2 separate regions of the Homo sapiens genome follow, and region 1 is linked to region 2. The links are contacts of gene promoters, found by promoter capture Hi-C in blood cells and fetal thymus (Javierre and others, 2016). All regions are on one chromosome and are shown on one strand. Each heading gives the region's core, a stretch centred on a gene start or on the middle of the fragment in contact. The rest is flanking DNA. Distances are from core to core; before and after follow the strand shown. Region 1 has its middle 3.3 kb from the start of PAG1. Region 2 holds the start of MRPS28 (mitochondrial ribosomal protein S28).

What was found. The method cuts DNA at HindIII sites, captures the fragments that hold promoters and counts their contacts. A CHiCAGO score of 5 or more calls a contact.
Region 1: a fragment that was not itself captured here is called in contact with the fragment with the promoter of MRPS28 in region 2 in 1 of 17 cell types (fetal thymus); the score reaches 5.4 in fetal thymus.

What each region holds. Positions count from the first base shown.
Region 1 is chr8:81,113,467-81,117,341 of GRCh38, forward strand. No RefSeq gene overlaps it. Among named protein-coding and RNA genes, the nearest start is that of PAG1, 3.3 kb to the left of the region's middle. The HindIII fragment of the contact is 195 bases long and covers 1,537-1,731 here.
Region 2 is chr8:80,027,856-80,032,165 of GRCh38, forward strand. MRPS28 (mitochondrial ribosomal protein S28) reads right to left here and starts at 2,404. Exons shown (of 3, transcript NM_014018.3): 1 at 2,181-2,404. The coding sequence starts at 2,393. The region is part of intron 5 of TPD52-MRPS28 (TPD52-MRPS28 readthrough); the gene reads right to left. It also overlaps a transcript of TPD52 not described here. RefSeq lists an enhancer at 2,127-2,556. The HindIII fragment of the contact is 3,845 bases long and covers 1-3,407 here.

The DNA.
Region 1 (3,875 bases), core at 384-2,883, 1.1 Mb after region 2:
CACAGTGGTCTCTTAAGTTGAATAATAATATAAAAAAGTATCCCCATTTTATATATTAAAGAAGACATCCTGGACATGAGTTGACTAATGGTGGAACTTGAATAAAAGTAGGGATCTCCGTGTTGGACTTGGCTTCTACAACTCTGGAGAAGAGGACAATTTAGACCTTATAAAGCAAATGGTTTCTGTGTTTACTAGTCACATCTTTTACAGGCTGTGCCTAAATTTGGAGTTAGGAAGGCTTTCATTCTTGTGGGGAGGAAATACATTTTGTGTCTTCCAGTTTTGCTACACTTGTTAGGATACACTTAGAACAAAATGTTCTAAGAGCAACCCGGTCCTAGGACATTGCAGTTCCACAGTGCAGGCTTCATTGAGGAGTTTGAAGGGCAATATTCACGTTATCTGGTGACAAGTGTAATTACCATCCTCATTTTACCCAGGCTCAGAAGCTAAGTGATTTAGACAAATTCACGAATGCAGGCAGGAGCCAATCTCTAGCCTCTGTCCTTTTCCTCTGCTCTCTTTTCACCAAGTAACATGCTGAGGATTGTTTTTCATTTCCAAATTTTTCATATCAGGATTTGCCATCAGTAAATTGGAACTCAAATGTATTTCAAAGCCACTCCTAGATAGAGAACCAAAAGTGTCAGGATCAATTCTTGTGCTTGTGGTAGATGCTATGGGCTATACTCTCGGTCTGAGTAATGTTTTGGAAGCAAGTATGTGATAGTTATATACAGTCTTCTAATCCAGAGGTTTGACTGGGAATGCTACACTGCCAACTGTGGTCTACCTGCCTTTATCTTTACTTCTTATCTAACTCTTCCATTACAGCCATTCTTCGGTGTGATTATGAAATTAATTCCTAAGAAAAAAGAATTCTTTGAAGGAGCTGGTACATCACAGGTTGTAAAACTTACTTCAGTTTTTAATAAGAAATATATATATATTTTAAATATGAAGGTAGCAGAATAGTCATGTTGGGACCTTTAGAAGAACCCAAAGTTGTCATTGTTTTCTTAGGTGCCCGACATTTCAATCAAAATATTTACATAATTCATTTGTATATTGATTTCAAGAGATCCAAGATTTAATTAAATAAAAAGTTACTATTAATTGGTGTGTCCTACTGCTATTGAATTTTGAACCATTGTTATTGGCATTAAATACATGAAATATATAATATTGTCTTGATACTATATTGACTGTGCTTTAATATTGACTGTGTCTTGATATTGACTGTGTCTGTATTTAGAATTTATTTCACATCAGCTGCTATTGATTGTCTGGCAGAAATCGCAGCTACATCTTTTTCTCTGAGGTCTGTATTCCTTATGGGTCAGCAAGGCCTACTCTTTGGCTGAGAATTCCTTCCTTCAATGCCTCTAAAAGTCCTAGTAGTGAGATATTCAATTATATAGACACTAATGACTCCACTGAAACTATTCTTCCCTCATGCAGAAACTGTACCTAGGATAGATTTTTATTAAAGTCTTTCTGCTAAAAATCACAGGCTTACCAACTGAGCTGGAAAGCTTAGGCTCAAAAATTCTCCACCTTTATTAATTACATTTCTTCATCCATTTCACTCAAAGGGATTCTTTGACATGAAAATCTTCACTTACTTCATAGACACAGTCCAGATAAGAGAACTGTGGGGAGTCCAAGGTGACTAGCAAGAGTGAGACAGTTGGGAGGAAGGAATTAGATGCCACTTGGTGAAAAATAAGCTTGCCATAAAAATTAATACAAGTTGTGCTTGATTTGTGGACATGGCTTATTACAAAGTTTGCCTTGTTTGAACACATGCAGCAGCTGATAACTTCACTGGAAACCATCACTGAATCCCTGGTGTAGATGGGATTGGGGGAGATTAGGGTCCTGTCTTCTTTCCCGAGAAACTTTAGAAAAGTATTAGAAAGCCCAATTCTTGCCCTAATGCAGGAAACTTACGACGTGCCTGCATTGTAAATGTTCATGTCTAAGTTATCTCACTTACAATTTAGAGCAGTCAATATAATAAATAATCAGGATTTTCAGGCTAGCTCCATAATGTTTTTTAAGTCTCTATTAACAACAAAAAAAGCTAATAGAGTGTTAATTATAACCCTGAACCTGAGAAGAAATAGGTGATGGGTAGGGATGTTGGGCTAAGGCAGGAATGGGGTCGGGGGCTGGGACAGGATGGAATTTAGGGATGGAAGAAGGAAGGCAGGAAGTGGCCTTTGGTTGCTGAGGAGCAAAGGCTGGTGGAGACTGAGTATCAGCAGCTTCTGAGATAAGACTGGGCAATGGCCTGTGAGCAAGATTAGAGAGCAAGCAATCAAGACTCTGCTGGCAACTCACAGCTTACCTGAACTTAAAGTGCTGAGGATTCCACGTGTGACTTTGTCTATAGGAAAGAGGGATCAGAGGTTAAGAAATAGATTATAAATTCCTTAAAACCCATGATAGATGCTTTAAAGAACTACTACAAAATATACCCTCAATTTCAATCTCTAAGAGTTACTTTTTCCTCCCTCCCAACCAAATTGCCCACTAATAAAAGGAGAGAGCAGCTGGGGGAGAGGCCATGCTGCACAGTGCGAACCTCACAGGCTGTCTGGCCCCCACTCCCAGCATCTCCATCCATCAGCTGTAATCACGTGACTGCCATCTTTGATTACCTAATACACAGTAACAAGAGCTTCAAGCACATATTAGGTTCCGAATATGCTAGCTATTAGTGGTGGGCTTTACAAAATCTCTCCTAGAGTTAAAATCTGAAACTAGACATCTCTTAGTGTCTATTTTATCATTTTAATGTAAACCATGATGAACTGTAGTTTTTAAGAGAGTACTTTCCTTCTCCATCAGAAGACTTAAGAGTGACTTTAGGGCTCCTCTGAGGACAGGAGAATCGTGTAGAAAAGGCTTTCAAGGGAGATCAGGGCAAAACCTACTAATGTAGCTCTGCAGCCTCACACTATACTGTAGAGGAAAAGTCAAGGCTTAAGGACTTGACATTTTCATATCTTTCTACCGGGAGAAAGAAATTATGGTGGCAAGAGACAGTAGCTATAAAAGTGAAAATAGAGTGCTTTAAAGAAATGCCTTTATATTACAGATTTGAGAATGGACATTTCCATTGTCCTTTGTCATCCTGACCTTACACATTCCTTAAAGTTCTATCCTGACATCAACACTCAAGATGTGTGCCTGTAAAACTGATGTAGATACTCAGAATGTTGGTAGAGATTCCTTAAGCTCACTTTTAATTCTTCTGCCTTTATCACTTCAATATAATACAATTTTTATAAACATATTTTAAGCAGGCATCAGAGAAAACTGCGTGTTTCCTTAGTAGCCAACCAGTTGCCTGCCAGCAAGCAAAACTTCAGCATTGAGAAAGGAAGATTTTGAAATTCAATTCCAAAAGAAGTGAGTTGTGCCATCTCCAACATTAGAAATATGTGAAAGACTTATAGTGGCTAAAGCATTTCTGTCATTTCTTGCCTTTATACATCTTCCTCCAGTCCCGCCCTCTCAACACCTTTTCAGCAAATAGACTTTTCTGCTCTCAGTCTTGTACTCTCCCTAAAATGGAAGCTGTCTCTTGTTATATAGCTACAACAGATGACAGGAAGAGGAAATTCAGCAGAAAGTGGCTTTCTCTGTGAGCCACAAGCCCATTAAAAGTGGAAGATTATTCTTTGTTTACATGGCTTTCTTCTTCAGTTTGCATAAGGTTCCTTATCTGAAAAATGGGGATAATAGTATCAGAAAATAGTATCAGTATCCACAAAATAACATAATTATTTTCTGAAAGAATCAGCCATTTACCTATTCCTACTTCCCTCTGAAGAGCATTCAGTTTCTGCTGAATTCTCTTC
Region 2 (4,310 bases), core at 1,154-3,653:
GTAGAATAATGTTTTCTAAACTGTGTTAGACGGAGAACAACCACGCAGGGTGCAGAGATGCTGCTGAGCCTGAGCTGGACTGAGAAAATCTAACGGATGTGCTGGGACTGCCAGGAAACACCCCAGCCTCCTCCTGGAAAAACTGAACAGCCCAATTAGAACTGCCTTGGAAAGGAAAGGAAAGAGAAAAGGAAAGGAAAGGGAATTCTGGGGACTCTAAAACACCTTGGTTGTTTCCTTCATTAAATAAACAGTACATTTTTAGTTTCAAACACTTAACTTACTATACATGTGATGCTACAATTTTCACTCTTACCACAGTTAACTCAGCAATTGAGAATTATTTTGGGGGGTTTCCGAAGGGGCTTAGAATGTGGTATGAATGGGAGCGAAGCGTGAGTGAGAAATATTAGGTAAGAAATAGAAAAACTCCTTTCCTATACATATATTTGGAAGGGAGCACTGAACTCTATGTTTCCAACCTTACTGCACTTAACTCTTATGGCCTTACCTTAAGGATGGATCTAAAATCCATCCCTTAGGTGGCTTCAGGTCAATCATCGCTATTCTGCTAGTATTTTATGACTTCTCCATATATGGTAGAAAGAATAATGCCCCCTCCCCCTACAAAGACATCCACATCCTAATCTCTAGAATTTGTGAATATGTTACCTTCCGTGGCAAAGGAGAATTAACTTTGCAGGTGGAATTAAGATTGCTAATCAGCTGATCTTAAAATAGATTATCTAGGGAGGCCAATGTAATCACAGGGATCTCAAAAGCAGAAGACGGGCGGGGGGGGCGGGGCCGGGCGGGGTCAGCCAGGCCAGGTGGCTCACATCTGTCATCTGTAATCCCAGCACTTTGGGAGGCCAACGCAGGAGGATCACTTGAACCCAGGAGTTCAAGACCAGCCTGGGCAACATGGCAAAACCCCATCTCTACAAAAAAAAACAGAAAAAACAATTAGCCCAGAGTGGTGGTGCACACCTGCGGTCCCAGCTATGAAGCAGGAGGATCACTTGAGCCCAGGGGGTTTAGCAGTGAACTGAGATCATGCCACCACACTCCAGCGTGGGTGACAGAGCGAGACCCTGTCTCAAAAAACAACAAAACAAACAAAAAAATCCAAAAAACAAAAAAGTAGAAAACAGAGGCAGAAAAGACAGGCCAGGAAGAGATTCTCCTAGAAGCTACGGAAAAGAACACAACTTCACCAACACCTTGATTTTAGACCAGTGAGATCCCGTCTGACTTCTCACAACCCTAACAACAACACATTTCCTGTGTTTTACGCCACTAAATTTGTAGTAATTTGTTACAACAGAAAATAATAAACTAATATACCAGGCTTCTTCTAGTCCTTGGATTTCAGAAAAATTTTGACATCAGTAATTGCTACTAAAATGACCCTATAACCCAGGACACTGCCAGTCTTGTGAACTGTTTGGTACTACTCCCTAGGAAGAAAAATACAGAAATTGAGAGTTTATTTGTATATAATTCAATTTCATGTCTGCTGAGTTTAATTATTAAAAACTTAGGCTTGTAATTTTATTTCTTCCATTTCATTTATCTATAAATTTATGGTATTTTACAAAAGTACTGGCTGAGACAAACGGAGATTTTACTTTACTTTTTAAAAAAAGAAGACATTTACAAAAGAGAGGTGAAGCGCTGACAAGTTAAATCACTTGCCCAAGTTCAGAAAGTGATTCATCACCCAGTCATTAAATTAACAAATGTTTATGAAGGGCCTTCTACTCCAGACAGCAAGCTCCATGCTAGAGCTACTGTTCAGAACAAGACCCAGCAGAGCCCTGCCTCTCCGTGTGAGTCCCATTCTCCTTAGCGTCCCAGGAATCGCCCTAGATCGCCTCCCCAGCAGCGCTCCCCGCTGGTTACCTTCCCACCAGCATTCAATCCCAGGAAAACAAGCGCAGTGTGGACAGACCCGGCCCAGTACGCAAATGCCACACAAAAGGACAACGAAAGGAAGAAAAACACCAAGCACAGATTCTAGGGGCCGAGGGCTGAGCCACAACGCACCGCAACTCCGGAAAACTGGGCCCCGGACCTCAGCTCCCCTTCCTAAGCCAGGCTCCGCCCCTATTCCCGACCCCGCCCACCGCGTCGTTGGCGTAATTCCCGCGACTCCCTCTCACCCGCCCGGGCTCCACCTTCTGTAGGGGCTCCACCTTCTGTAGAAGCTCCGAGTGCCGCTCCAACGCGCTCGCGAAACCGCCTGCGCGCGTCTTAGGCTCCTTGGCATTGGAACTACCACTTTCGGATCCACTCTCAGTGCCTACACCCCGAAAGGGCCTGAAGAAGAGAAACACTCGCAGAAAATGGCTCTCGGCAGCCACAGCACGGGTCCGACACAGCGCCGCCATGACTTCTTTACCTCTGACCTTTGACCTCCCCTCCGCAAGCGCGCGGGTCACGGGGCGGAGCTATGAGAGGTCCGCCCCCCGGACGCAGAGCTCTGGAGGCCAACGAGGCGTGTCTTCCTTTCATCTGGGAGTGGCGTGGGGAAGAAGAGACTTAAGCTAAAATTGGTGGGCTAAATAGTTGGAAAGGGGCCTGGTTAAGTTTTGCGTTAGAAGTGCGTTTAACTTGCAGGAATTTCGCCTTCCTGGGCATCCGTTGGACCCCATTGTACTGTAAATTCTGCTAACGCGACGCTCGTTCTCCCGCCCTGCCGTCCCCCCTACATGGCCGCCAGCACTCGAGTTTGGGGTCTTCACTCAAATATGAGGGTCTCCTTGATTACCCTATTTAGAAGTGGAAGCCCAAATGCAGACTCTCTGGCACCTGTTTTTCTTAGTACCATGTAGCACTTTCTAATATGCCACATATTAATATTAAATATTTAATAATATTTAGTGTCTACTCCCAACTTTTTAAACTTTGAAAAGAGGAACTTTGCTGTAGGGTCCCTAGCACCAGGCACAGATTAGGGCTCACCCAACATTTGCCAAACCCTGCATCCAAGTTTGTCCTTTGCCACTTCTGCAGCCAGTCCACTCACGCCACAAAAATAGTTTTTCTGAAATGTTTTGACACCTCTAGATACCTATTATCTAACTTAGGAGTTCAGAAGTTTTGGAATGTCCCTAAGTATTGCACCGCCGTAGGCCCCCACCCTCACTCTGGATTTTCTTTCCCTTTTCTCCTGCAGTGTTAATTCCCAAAATTTACCCACCCTGTTCAAAACAGCCTAACATCATTCTTAAGTGTTTATTAATTAGTTGTCCGTCTATCTTTGACCCAGCAGTTTAATATTAATCCACAGTTAGTTTTATTTTGGGGGCACACACCTTTCCAGTTCATTTGCAAGTACTTCGAGAGAAAGAATTTTTATGATCACAGACCCTATTTTAAGAATGCCTTGACTATGGGTTTTAAGCTTTTCTGATGCTCTCTAATGGTACAGATAGTGTTAAGAACACGAAGTACACTGATCTCAGAATGGTGCACAATTGTATGAATCACATAAAATTATTACTAGCTAACTGTATGGTAGTCCTTACAAATTCATTAAATTCTCCAGGTGAGTTCTCCCTCTTGGCAGTTAAAACTGTTTATCTCCCGAGACTATTAATGGACTCTTGCCTAGAACATTATTTTCTACGGATAGTGCTACTTCCACTTTTTTTCAGGAGAAAGTGTGGTAAATTGTAAAGAGCATGGCCAGTGGTCTTCAAGAACCCTCAGTCTGACTGGGCAGGGTGGCTTACACTTGTAATCCCAGCACTTTGTGAGGTTGAGGAGGGAGGATTGCTTGAGATGAGGAGTCCGAGACCAGCTTGGGCCATAGCAAGAACCAGTCTCTACCAAAAAATAGAAAAATCAGCCTGGGGCAGTGGTGCATGCCTGTAGTCCCGGCTACTTGGGAGGCTGATGGAGGAGGATCACTTGAGCCCAGGAGTTTGAGGCTGCAGTGAGCTATGTTCCTGCCACTTCACTCCAGCATGGGTGAAAAGTGCAAAACTCAAGTATCCGTAAAAACACACCCCTGGCGTGGTGGCTCACACCTGTAATCCCAGCACTTTGGGAGGCCAAGGAGGGCAGATCACCTGAAGTCAGGAGTTCGAGATCAGCCTGGCCAACATGGTGAAACCCTGTCTCTACTAAAAATACAAAAATTAGCTGGGCGTGATGACACATGGCTGTAATCCCATCCACTCAGGAGGCTGAGGCAGGAGAATCACTTGAACCCAGGAGGTGGAGGTTGCAGTGAGCCAAGATCACACCACTGTTCTCCAGCCTGGGTGACAGAGCGAGACTCCAGCTCAAAAAAAAAAAAA